2 separate regions of the Homo sapiens genome follow, and region 2 is linked to region 1. Evidence: promoter capture Hi-C in human tissues and cell types (Jung and others, 2019). All regions are on one chromosome and are shown on one strand. Each heading gives the region's core, a stretch centred on a gene start or on the middle of the fragment in contact. The rest is flanking DNA. Distances are from core to core; before and after follow the strand shown. Region 1 holds the start of SLC22A12 (solute carrier family 22 member 12). Region 2 holds the start of RASGRP2 (RAS guanyl releasing protein 2).

What was found. The method cuts DNA at HindIII sites, captures the fragments that hold promoters and counts their contacts. A contact is called where the count stands out against the background at its distance.
Region 2: a contact is called between the fragment with the promoter of RASGRP2 here and the fragment with the promoter of SLC22A12 in region 1, in 2 of the 25 tissues and cell types used here (bladder and dorsolateral prefrontal cortex).

What each region holds. Positions count from the first base shown.
Region 1 is chr11:64,586,604-64,592,690 of GRCh38, forward strand. SLC22A12 (solute carrier family 22 member 12) reads left to right here and starts at 4,617. Exons shown (of 10, transcript NM_144585.4): 1 at 4,617-5,355. The coding sequence starts at 4,954. The HindIII fragment of the contact is 41,401 bases long and covers 908-6,087 here.
Region 2 is chr11:64,741,448-64,746,369 of GRCh38, forward strand. It overlaps RASGRP2 (RAS guanyl releasing protein 2), which reads right to left and starts at 2,695. Exons shown (of 17, transcript NM_001098671.2): 1 at 2,556-2,695; 2 at 1,347-1,490; 3 at 563-665; 4 at 1-54. The coding sequence starts at 1,419. RefSeq lists silencers at 1,362-1,691, 2,002-2,051, 2,212-2,261, 3,252-3,361, 3,612-3,811 and 1 more. The HindIII fragment of the contact is 18,641 bases long and covers 1-4,922 here.

The sequences.
Region 1 (6,087 bases), core at 3,367-5,866:
GGCCTCCTTCCTACTTCTTGAGCATAAAATCACATGCCCACCCCAGGGTCTTTGCATAATACTCTTCCCTCTGCCTGCAATATTCTTTCCCCAGTCAACTGTGTGTCTTGTCCCCTCATCTACTTGGGTCTCTTTCAATGCCACCTCCACAGAGAAGTCTTCCCTGACTGCCCCACCCAAAGTGGCAACATGATCCTTACTCTCTGCCCCTTATGCTATCTTGTTCTCTCCACAGCATGATTACTACTTGTCACTATATTCATTTATTTCTTGATGTGTTTCTCCTCTCTCATTGGCATGTCTTTCTACATATCAATGAGAACAGGGAATTATCTTGTTTGTTCACCGCTGCATCCCTGTGCCTAGAGCAGTGGCTGGTGCATTATCAACACTCAGCTCAACAAATGAATATTGATATTAAGAAGAAAGACACTCTTCTTTTTTTTTTTTTTTTTTTTTTGAGACAGAATCTTGCTCTGTCACCCAGGCTGGAGTGCAGTGGCGTGATCTTGGCTCCACTGCAACCTCCGCCTCATGGATTCAAGCAATTCTCCTGCCTCAGCAACCCTGGTAGCTGGGATTACAGGTGTGTGCCACCACCTCTGGCTAATTTTTGTATTTTTACTAGAGGCAGGGTTTCCCCATGTTGGCCAGGCTGGTCTCAAACTCCTGACCTCAAGTGATCCACTCGCCTCGGCCTCCCAAAGTGCTGGGATTCCGGCCGTGAGCCACCACGCCTGGCCCAAGAGAAACACTCGTAATATCCACTAAGAGATCAAGGAAATTATTCCACCTATGAAACAAGAAGTGGAAACTAGGAAACAAGAAGAAGCAGTTATAGGAAGAACCAAACACGGATTCTGAAATGGAAATTACACATTCTGAAATTAAAATGCTGGTGATTTGGGGCTGGGTGCAGTGGCTCATGCCTATAATCCCAGTACTTTGGGAGGCCGAGGTGGGCAGATCAGTTGAGGCCAGGAGTTCGAGACCAGCCTGGCCAACATGGTGAAACCCCATCGATATTAAAAATACAAAAATTAGCTGGGCATGGTGGCACATGCCTATAGACCCAGCTACTTAGGAGGCTGAGGCATGAGAATTGCTTGAACCTGGGCAGTGGAGACTGCAATGGGCCAAGATGGCGCCACTGCACTCCAGCCTGGGCAACAGAGCAAGACTCTGACTCAACTTAAAAAAAAAAAAGTGGAGAAAGCTGCATGAGAAGCATTTTTTTGGGAGAGCTCAGCTTTGGCCACACTAAGTGTGAGATGTTTATTAAGCACCTAAGATTAGGCAGTTGGATCAAAATCTAGCATTCCAAGAAGAGGTACAGGCTAAAGATGTGAATGGACCAGATGATAGAGAATATAGAGAAGACCAAGGAGTGAGCTCAGTGGCCTCCAATGTTAACAGTGTGTGGAGAAGAGGAAAACCCAACCAAGAAGATTGAGAACTAGTGAGTCCTGGAGGCCCAGGGAAGAAAGTATTCTCAGATGGAGATCAGAGACAGATGGCTCAAGTAAGATGAGGACTGAAAATGTCATTGAATCTAGCAGCATGGAGGTCATTGGTGACAGCAGAGTGATAGGGGCAAAACCTTGATGGGAATGAATCCAAAAACAAACAAAAAAATGGGAAGACAGAAACTGGAAATGAGTGTCAATAATACTTTCATAGAATTTTGTTGTAAATACAAGCAAAGGTGGGGCAGTCGCTTAAGAAGAAAGAGGGGCTCAAATGGAGGGGGAGTTTTTGGAAGGCTACAGAAAAAAATGGCATATTTGTACATTGGTGGAAATTATCCAGTAGCGAGGGAAAGACAAATGCCAAAGAGAGATGTGAGCAGGCAAAGGGGGGTGGGCTCTAGGCACACAGTGAGGGGTTGGCATGGATGAGAGAGAAACCAAACTGGGTGGAAGGAAGGCAGAATGTGGGGGCACCAAGGCAGGTGAGCTGGTGAGAGAATTAGACTGTTGGCTTCTGATGGCTTCTATTGTTTTAGTGAAATAAGAAAAAAGGTCATCTATTGAGAGAGAGGATAGAAGAGAAGGTGGTAGGTTTGAAGAGAGAAGATGGTATCAAATAACCCCTGGTTTGTGTGTTCAAATATAAGGGTAACAGAAATAAAACGTACAACTGACAGACCAAGACAGTAGAAGAATATAACAAGAAAACTTAATGGATTCAGTAGAAATTAGGAACAAGGAAACCAAGATTTAAAGGGAAAATGTGGTAAACAAGAAAACATACAGTAAGTCCAAACATGTCAATAATTACAATAAATGTGAACAGGTTAAAATCGCTAATTAAAAGGCAGAGGTATTTCTTTTGGATTTTACAAAAGGAAATGTAAAGCTTATTTGGCAGCTCAAGCTGATGAAGCTAAACATATCAGTTACTAAAACAAAGTCTGCACATATTTACACCAAACTGTAAACAGTAGTGTAACTCACTGGTTGATGAGTATATGAGGGATCTTTATTTTCATTTCAATATGTTCTGAATTTTTGAGGAAGTGTGTAAATTATTTCATAATTAGAAAATAAATGAAATTTTTAAAAAAATCATCCATGCACTTCAGCAAGTCTCCATGGAACCTTTATTTGTTGTCCAAATCAGTTCCAAAGAGCCTCTAAAGAAGGGTTCCAGACTACCAGGAGCTCACTGGAAATAAGACCAACTGGACCATAATAGAAGAATGCAGGTCATGGCTGGGTGCCGCAACTCACACCACTTTGGGAGGCCAAGGCAGGCAGATCACCTGAGGTCAGGAGTTTGAGAAGAATGCAGGACAGTGTAAAGATGAGATTCCACTGACAACTCTGAGCCCTAGTTGTAGGCAGGAATAAGTGAAGAGAGCCCGCTGGAGGAGGAGTATTTGGACTGTGCCCATTCCACACAGTATGTGGCCTAAGGGTGAGCCTGGAGACAGCATTCCAGGCTGGAGGTCCAACATAAGCAAGGGTGGGAACTGAGAAAGCATGTACAGGGCATGTGGTGGAAGCAGTGGATGACTCAAGGTGCAGAGCCCAGGGAGGCAAAGAAGTTGGCTTGGTAAGCCATGTGGAGGGGCAGCGGGAAGAGTCGGTGAAGCAAAAAGAAGCAGATGGGAGGGGCATTTATGCCTCAAATGGAGAGTTTTATGCCCAAAGCTCATAAGAGCAAACACCTGGGTTGCCATCACTGCTGCACTGCACATATACGCATGCACACATGTACACACATGCACTTGTGCAAACACATGTGCACACATACACAGACATGTGCACACACCCACATATACATACACTTCTTTTTTTTCTTTTCTTTTTTTTTTTTTTTTTGAGATAAGAGTCTTTCTCTGTCAACCAGGCTGGAGGGCAGTGGTGCAATCTCAGCTTGCTGCAACCTCTGCCTCCTGGGTTCAAGAGATTCTCCTGCCTCAGCCTCCCAAGTAGCTGGAATTACAGCTGTGCACCACGACCATGCTCAGCTAACTTTTGTATTTTTAGTAGAGATGGGTTTTTGCCATGTTGGCCAAGCTGGTCTTGAACTCTTGACCTCAAGTGATCCCCCCACCTCGGCCTCCCAAAGTGCTGGGATTACAGGCATGAGCCACCACGCCCGGCCATGCACACACACTTTTTAACTGCTTTGTGTTCTCTGGCCCTTTCGCCTACAGAATTAGCTATCGAGACCAAGGGGGTTCTCTTGGCCTCGGTCCAGCCTTTCCTGAACCCCACACCCTGCATCAGCACACACTGCTGTCCACTCACCTGCCCTAGTAAGTCACCACTAGCTGTTGTTGACTGGGAGCCCCTTGGCTTTTAAGCAGGATTTGACCCAAGGGCTCGCAGTGCGTGGTGGGTCCAGGGGCAGGAGTTGAGGCAGAAAGACAAGGGCAGGGACAGCTGTGGAGTGGGGGAGGTGGGAGAGAGAAATCCTTAGGAGGCAAAACTAGCCAGGCTTGGCCCCTGGTGGATTTGGGAGGCAGGGAGCAGGAGGCGTGAACCAAGACGCTGGGTTCCAGGCCAGACACTGTGACATGAGAGGCCATAGCTGAGGTGGGGCTCTGCAGGAGGCATAGATTTGGGGAGGGGACAGAGATCTCAGGGTGGCATTGGGCACACCGAACCTGGGGAGTCTGTGGGGTGTCTGTTGATGCTGGGAAGCTCCACCGAGGACTCAGGACAGGGTAACAGCAAAGCGGGCACAGGACGCCAACCACAGCAGGTGAGTGGAGGCAGGAGCCACGGGTGGGGCCAGGCCACACAGCCTGGGAGGCGCAGGGGCTGGGCAGCTGCCAGTGACCCAAGCCCACACAGAGACTTGCACAGCTGCCCCAGCCCCAAATTAGGGGGATCCCCTGGCCCACCTTCTCTTGGCTCAGCCACTCTGGGAGGTGGGCACACAGGGGCACCGAAGGGAGCAGGCAGCCCTGGCATCCCACAGCCGCCAGGAGAAAAACTTAGGCCTCCCCAAGACCTGGCACAGAGCAGGCCGGCCCTGGCCCCCAAGCAGAGGAGGCTGCACCTCCCTCGCGTCTGTGCCTGCCTCAACGCGGGTTAAACTTTGACCAAGGAAATGATTGCTAAACTCGATTCCATAAGTGTCACCGGTCACACTTTAATTCCAGTCTAAAATTAAAGTCTTCAGTCTCCACATTCCCTACTTTCCAAATTCAGCTTTCCCGGGAGGTCTGGAGCAGCTGCCTCTCTGGGGAGATGCTGGAGGTCTCGGAATCACCTCACGCGGCCTCAGGGCCCAGTTGGAGCCACCCCAAGTGACACCAGCAGGCAGATGACCAGAGAGCCTGAGCCTCCGGCCCCGAGTCTGTGAAGCCTAGCCGCTGGGCTGGAGAAGCCACTGTGGGCACCACCGTGGGGGAAACAGGCCCGTTGCCCTGGCCTCTTTGCCCTGGGCCAGCCTTTGTGAAGTGGGCCCCTCTTCTGGGCCCCTTGAGTAGGTTCCATGGCATTTTCTGAACTCCTGGACCTCGTGGGTGGCCTGGGCAGGTTCCAGGTTCTCCAGACGATGGCTCTGATGGTCTCCATCATGTGGCTGTGTACCCAGAGCATGCTGGAGAACTTCTCGGCCGCCGTGCCCAGCCACCGCTGCTGGGCACCCCTCCTGGACAACAGCACGGCTCAGGCCAGCATCCTAGGGAGCTTGAGTCCTGAGGCCCTCCTGGCTATTTCCATCCCGCCGGGCCCCAACCAGAGGCCCCACCAGTGCCGCCGCTTCCGCCAGCCACAGTGGCAGCTCTTGGACCCCAATGCCACGGCCACCAGCTGGAGCGAGGCCGACACGGAGCCGTGTGTGGATGGCTGGGTCTATGACCGCAGCATCTTCACCTCCACAATCGTGGCCAAGGTAGGGCCTCCCCCAGAGCCACTCGAGTCCCACCACCTTGGAGGTCAGTCATGGATCACGGTGGGTCAGACTCAAAGGTCCAGTCCTGGGAGGGACCCACCTCCCCAGGCCCCACTCACTCTCGAGCCTCTCAGCCCCTCGTCAGCCACACACAGGGAAGTGGGCGGCAGGGATCAGTCTACAAATGGGGCCAGCCCAGGCTCTTGGAGGTGCGGGGGGCACCTGGGCGGGCACCTCTAAATGCTGGCACCTGGACACTCACCGGCCTCACCCTGTCCTGGCCCTGCTGACCTGTCAGCCGTGACTCCAGGCAACTCAGCAGCAGGGGGACTCAGTGACAATTCACTGGATTCCCCGAGACCAAAGCACACAGAGTAAGGGATTACCCCAGGCTGCCTCCCAGATGGGGCGCCAGGCAAAGCCAGGCAAGCAGAGAGGGGCAGCTCATCCCAACAAGTGGGAAGAACCTCTTTATAAAGAACAGGAGGGAAGCAACCTCTGGGAGAGGGGTGAGGGTGTCAGCTTGGGTGGCTGCTTCCAAGTGGAGAGACAGGAGAGAGGGGCAGATGTGGCTAGAGACCCATTGGGCAATAGGGAGCCATGGAAGAGTTCAGGCAGAGGGTGGCAGGATATACTCCTCAAAAGGCCAAACTATGCCTGTGGGTGCCCTCACTGTTCCACAGGGTCTTGCTCTAAAACCCTAGAGGTCACCAGACCACCCACCGCACCCAG
Region 2 (4,922 bases), core at 1,445-3,944, 150 kb after region 1:
TGGCACGTTTTCACCTGCAGGGAATTGGAGTTGTCCTTCCGGGATTGTTGGTAGGTGAAGGAGAGGGTTAAGGAGGCCGCTTAACTCTAGAAAGGGAGGCCTGCGTGGAGGGAGGCTGGGGGCGGGGCCTGGTTCTAGGAGACACGTTCTAGGGATGGGGCTTGCGCTCTGCGGAGATGCTGGGGGTGAGGCTTGAGCTCTGGGAGGGGTTGGAGGTGGGGGTGGAGGACTAGGTGCTGAGGGAGGCTGAAAGCAAAGCCTGGGCTCTGGGAGAGAGAGATGCACGGGGCGCACCCAAGCCTGAAGCAGGGGCAGGCCCCAGACTCTAGGGAGAAGGAGGGCAAGGCCTCGGCTGGGGACAGAGCCTGGGGACAGGACCGAGTCGCTAGGAGCAAGGAGGGGGCAGAGCCTAGGCCCTAGTTGGAGGCTGGGACGACGCCTGAGCTCTGGGATAAGGAGTGGCCTATACTTAGGAGCGAGGCTCATTCTGCACCTGGGCTGGGCAGAGGGGCTGCGCATGGGCTCCGACGGCGGGGGCCTTGGCAAGGCCGGCGAAGGATATATGTGGAGCAGCTTGGCCGCCAGCTGAGAGGAGGGGATGTACCAGGGGTGCATCATGAGGAACATGCGCACCAGCTGCGGGTCCCGCACCTTCCCGGAGTCATCTGACTCCGAAGGGTCAAAGACAGGTGGCTGAGCTGGGTCCGCAGCTACCATGCCTCATCCTCACCCCGCAACCCGCCAGGTATCGGTCCTTCGGGTGCACGCTCGACCCCGCCCACCTCCTGCTTGCCCAGGACTCCGAGAGCAGGAGGCAAATTAGAGAGGAAAGGTGTGGTGGGCGAGAGATAGGCACGCCCTGAGGACTGGAGGAGGGGAGCGCCCGAGCCGCCCATCGTCCGGAGGGGAACCAGCTGGGGCGGAAGGAGCCTGGGTTCCCCGGGGTCAAGAATCCAGAGGTCATTTCCTGAGCGCTTGGGGGGAAGGGGCACCCCTTCACCAGATAAGCCGCCCCCCATTAGCCGGAAACAGCTCCCAGGCCGGAGATAGCGAGTTCCTCCGGATTCCCCGGGAGACAGATAATGCCCCTCAAGTGTCAGAGTCCGGGACCCGGCCCTCCCTTCGCCGCCGCTGGGGAAGGCTAGAGAAGGGAAACCTCATCTGTCTGAAGGGCGTGCATCTCTCTGCCCTGCGTTGCGGAGGAGGCTTTCGTTAAAGAGACTGCACGCTGCGGAGCAGGGTGGGTCCGGGTCAGGGCTGTGCCCTGGACTGTGCCTGGGAGGCAGGGACCCGGGCTCAGACTCGGGGCTAGGCTCAGGCTCCGTGTGCCCTCCCGAGCCACTCACCGAAGGCTTCGATGCACCCGCGGAGCAGCTCCTCCACCGTGCAGCCCTTGTCCAGGTCCAGGGTGCCTGCCATGGCCGCCGGCGCGGGGTGGGCTGGGCCCAGGCTGCGCTCCGGGAGCCTCCCACCGGGCTCGGACCGAACCCCTGTCCCGGGAGAGGCAGAGCGGGAGTCTGCGGAGTCGCGGGCGGGGGAGCGGCCCCGCGGGCAGAAACGGGGCGGGGCGGGCACGCCCCCTGCTGGACAGGGGCGGAGTTGTCCCCCGCGGCCACTCCCGGGGTTAAACGGTCTGGCCCGGGATGGTGCAACCCGCCAGTTGGGAAACGGACCCGCAGAGAGGCTTCCGGCCCACCCTCGGAGTCGCGGGAAGGCCGAGGGGCTTCACGAGGATGGGGACGAACCAAGATCCCAGGACTGGCTGGCGCCCAGCCCCCCGCAGGGCGCCTTCTCCTCGCGCCCTCTCCCCAGAGGCACCTGCAGCACCCCGCAGCTCGGCTCTGCGCCCCTCCCGCTTCCCTCCCTCCACAGCCTCCCTTCCCCCGCAGGGTTATTTTGGGAACCCAGAGCCTGAGGGGACCTCGGAGGAATTTCTCCCTGGTATGGGAGGTGGGGGGAGAGAACCCAGGCGTCCTGCCCGCCTCGCCCCCTCCCGGGAGCCCAGGAAGGCGAGGCGGGGCTGCGGCAGCCCCCAGGGGGCCTGCCCTAGGGGAGGCGGACTGGATGGGAGAGGAACATTCCTGGGGCGGGGGGAGCCCGCTGCGGCCAGGAGGCGTCAGCGGGAAGCCTGAGCCTGGGAACTGAGCGCTCCCAGGCCACCTCCGCAAAGGTCCCAGGGGTCCCGGCTCAGCTTGTCCACAGGCCCTCTTCCTCCCTATCCCCGGCTCCTGACCCTGGCCCCGGCCCCGCACAGGCGAACTGTGAGCGCGCACGGAGCAGGGTGTCCAGAGGGGGGCGCTCGCGCCAAGGGTGGCCGGTGGGTGCATGACACCATTAGCAACTCCGGTCACTGGCGGGGTCATACGCACCCTGGCAGGGGCAAACACTCCACACCCAAGTTATTCGTCGGAGGCCGGGGACCTAAGTGGAGGTGCAGGCGTCCGCACTTACACGCACCGGGCCACAGGCACCGGCCTCCCATCCTCCGTCTCTCACACACAATGGCACCCACACCCTGTGCACACCTGCACGAAGAAACCCTCAGGCACACATACCCAGCTCGTCCACCCCAGAATGCAAACCCGCGGACGAGGTCGCCTCCTGGACGTGCTGTTCACTTGAGCCAGGCCAGCCTTGAGTCCCGCGGCCACACAGGCGCTGACATCCTCACACGTGTGCACACACGCAAGGCAGTGCCTCTCCACGCATGTACACTCCCACACACATGCACACACCCCCATGGGTGCGCACGCCCATTCCGTCGCCCCCCTCCCATTTGCGGTGCAGGGCCCGCCCTGCGGCCCCAGCTCCCTGACTCCCCTCACTCCCAGATTTTGGCAGAGCCTTGCCCCACGGAAAGGTACCCCGGCCCTACACATACTCACTCCCCCAGGCTGGAGGACAGGGGAGCTCCTGTACGGAGTTCTCAGGCGGACTTTTCCTAAGAGCCACCCAGAGCCGTCCCCGCCTGGCTCTACCGCTTCCTCGTGTGACCTTGAGAATCACTTGGCCTCTGGGAGCCTCAATTTTCTCATCTGCCAAATGGGGGTACGCGGGGGAGGGCCCCGCTGGAAGGTGGCTGGGAAAAGCTGGGTGCACCGTGGAGGTCCTCCGCCCTCCGGGGATCCAGCGCGCCTTAGCTCTCGTGGCCGCTGCCCCCTCTCCCAGACCCGGGCCGCAGACTCCCCACCCGCTCGCCGCCCCCAGCCCGCCCGCGCCGCCCTGGGCGGGGGGGGAGTCGCTGGGGGCCGCGCCCTCCTTCGCCTGGCGCCCCGCCCGCGCTCGCCCACTCACTCTTGGGACCTGCCGCAAGGAGCCCGCACCGGCCTGGCCGACCCCACCTCCGTGCGCTCCCGCCCGCCGGCCTCGCTGCGGCTGCGGCTCCCGCCCGCTCTCCACGCCGCGGCCCCGCTCCCCGCCGCCCCGCCCCCGCCCCCGCGCCAGGCTGCCCCCTCCCCCCTCCGCCCCTGCGCGGAGCTCCGCACCGCCGGCTGCGCCACCCCCACCGGGGGCTCCCTCTCGCCCCGCACGCGGCGGTCCCTGCGGCAGCTTAACCCCTCCCCTGCCGCGCCGCCCGGGAGGCCAGGGCCGCGGGCGGGGGGCTGCGCCACTAGCTGCCCCGAGGGCGGGCGACCGGAGGCCCCGCCGCCCGGGACGCGGAGGGGGGACCGAAACGAAGAGCCCCTCCCCCAACCGCGGACGCCCCAGTGCCCCCCGCCCTGCCTGGGTGTCGGGCGGAGGAAGCCGGGAGGGGCAGGAAGCGGACTGCGGTGGGGAAGGGGCGCCCCGCCCAGCCCCCAGCTCGGGTTCCTGTTTTCGAGACAAACCGTTCCCATGGGGCTAACCCGGCCCGGGACCGGGCGTCTTCCTGCAGGCAGCGGGTGGCACAGGCCTAGTGGAGGTCGGGGGCGTGGGGACAGCTGGTCCTTGAGATAGTCTGGGGGATGGGCTAGGACAAGATGGGAATATTTTGGGGAGAGGGACCTGTGGGGAGCGAGGAATGAAATCGTGGCTATCTGGAGACGCGGCCTTGATGTCTGGGAATGGGGGCGGGGGGCCCAGTTCACACAGGAGGAACGGGGCCCCGGAAGCCTGGCTCCCCACAGGGTCGAATGGAAAGGGGCAGCCGCATGTGGCGGTGGGTTCTCCGCAGCTCGGAGACTGGAGACCTGGATGCCTGGCCAACAGGGAGGAACTTGGGAGGGGCAGCCGCAGGCGGTTGGGGTCCCCACTAGCCGGGCCTAGGAGAGCGGGTAACGGTTTCCGACCATTTGGCTTCAGACACACTCACTGTGAAACCACCGACCCCAAACCTCCCTTCCGAGGCGTGCCCCTCCCAGCCTTGGGGCGGGGGATCCAGGACCGCCCCCGCACCTCAGTCTTGGTAATGTAAGACTTAGAAACAGGACCTTTCTGTTCCTCAGTTTCCCCATAATGAGGGCCTAGACTAGGCGGTCTGCGAGTGTTCCCTGCCGTAACACTCCCCCGACTTTGGATCCAGTGTAGCCACCTGCTAAGAGACCCTTAAACGCCGCAGTAGGGCGGGGCTAAGGGCGGAGCCAAGAAGGCGCCGAGCATCCTCTGCTTCCTCCCCCTCCTGGGTCCTGCCCTCGACAGCGCGGATCCTCCGTGGTCCGGGAAGCCTCAGCCCAAGTCCCGGCTCCCAGCCCCGGTGGGCCCCACCCAGGCAGACGCCCCGCCCCCGGCCAGCGAGGCTGGCCGCTGACCTAGTATGGACACGGCACTGGGAAGAGAGGCGTGGAGGGTGACGCCAGGAAAGGGGCTGGAGAGGCCTAGGCCCCGCCCCCACGGGTCGCCCCCTCCACCTCCCATCACCGTCCCGCCGTGGGACGCACCTGCCGAGGGTGGAGGATAAGGGGGTGACTGCGCGGCTGCTGTTGAGCCCGCCAAGAGCTAAAAAT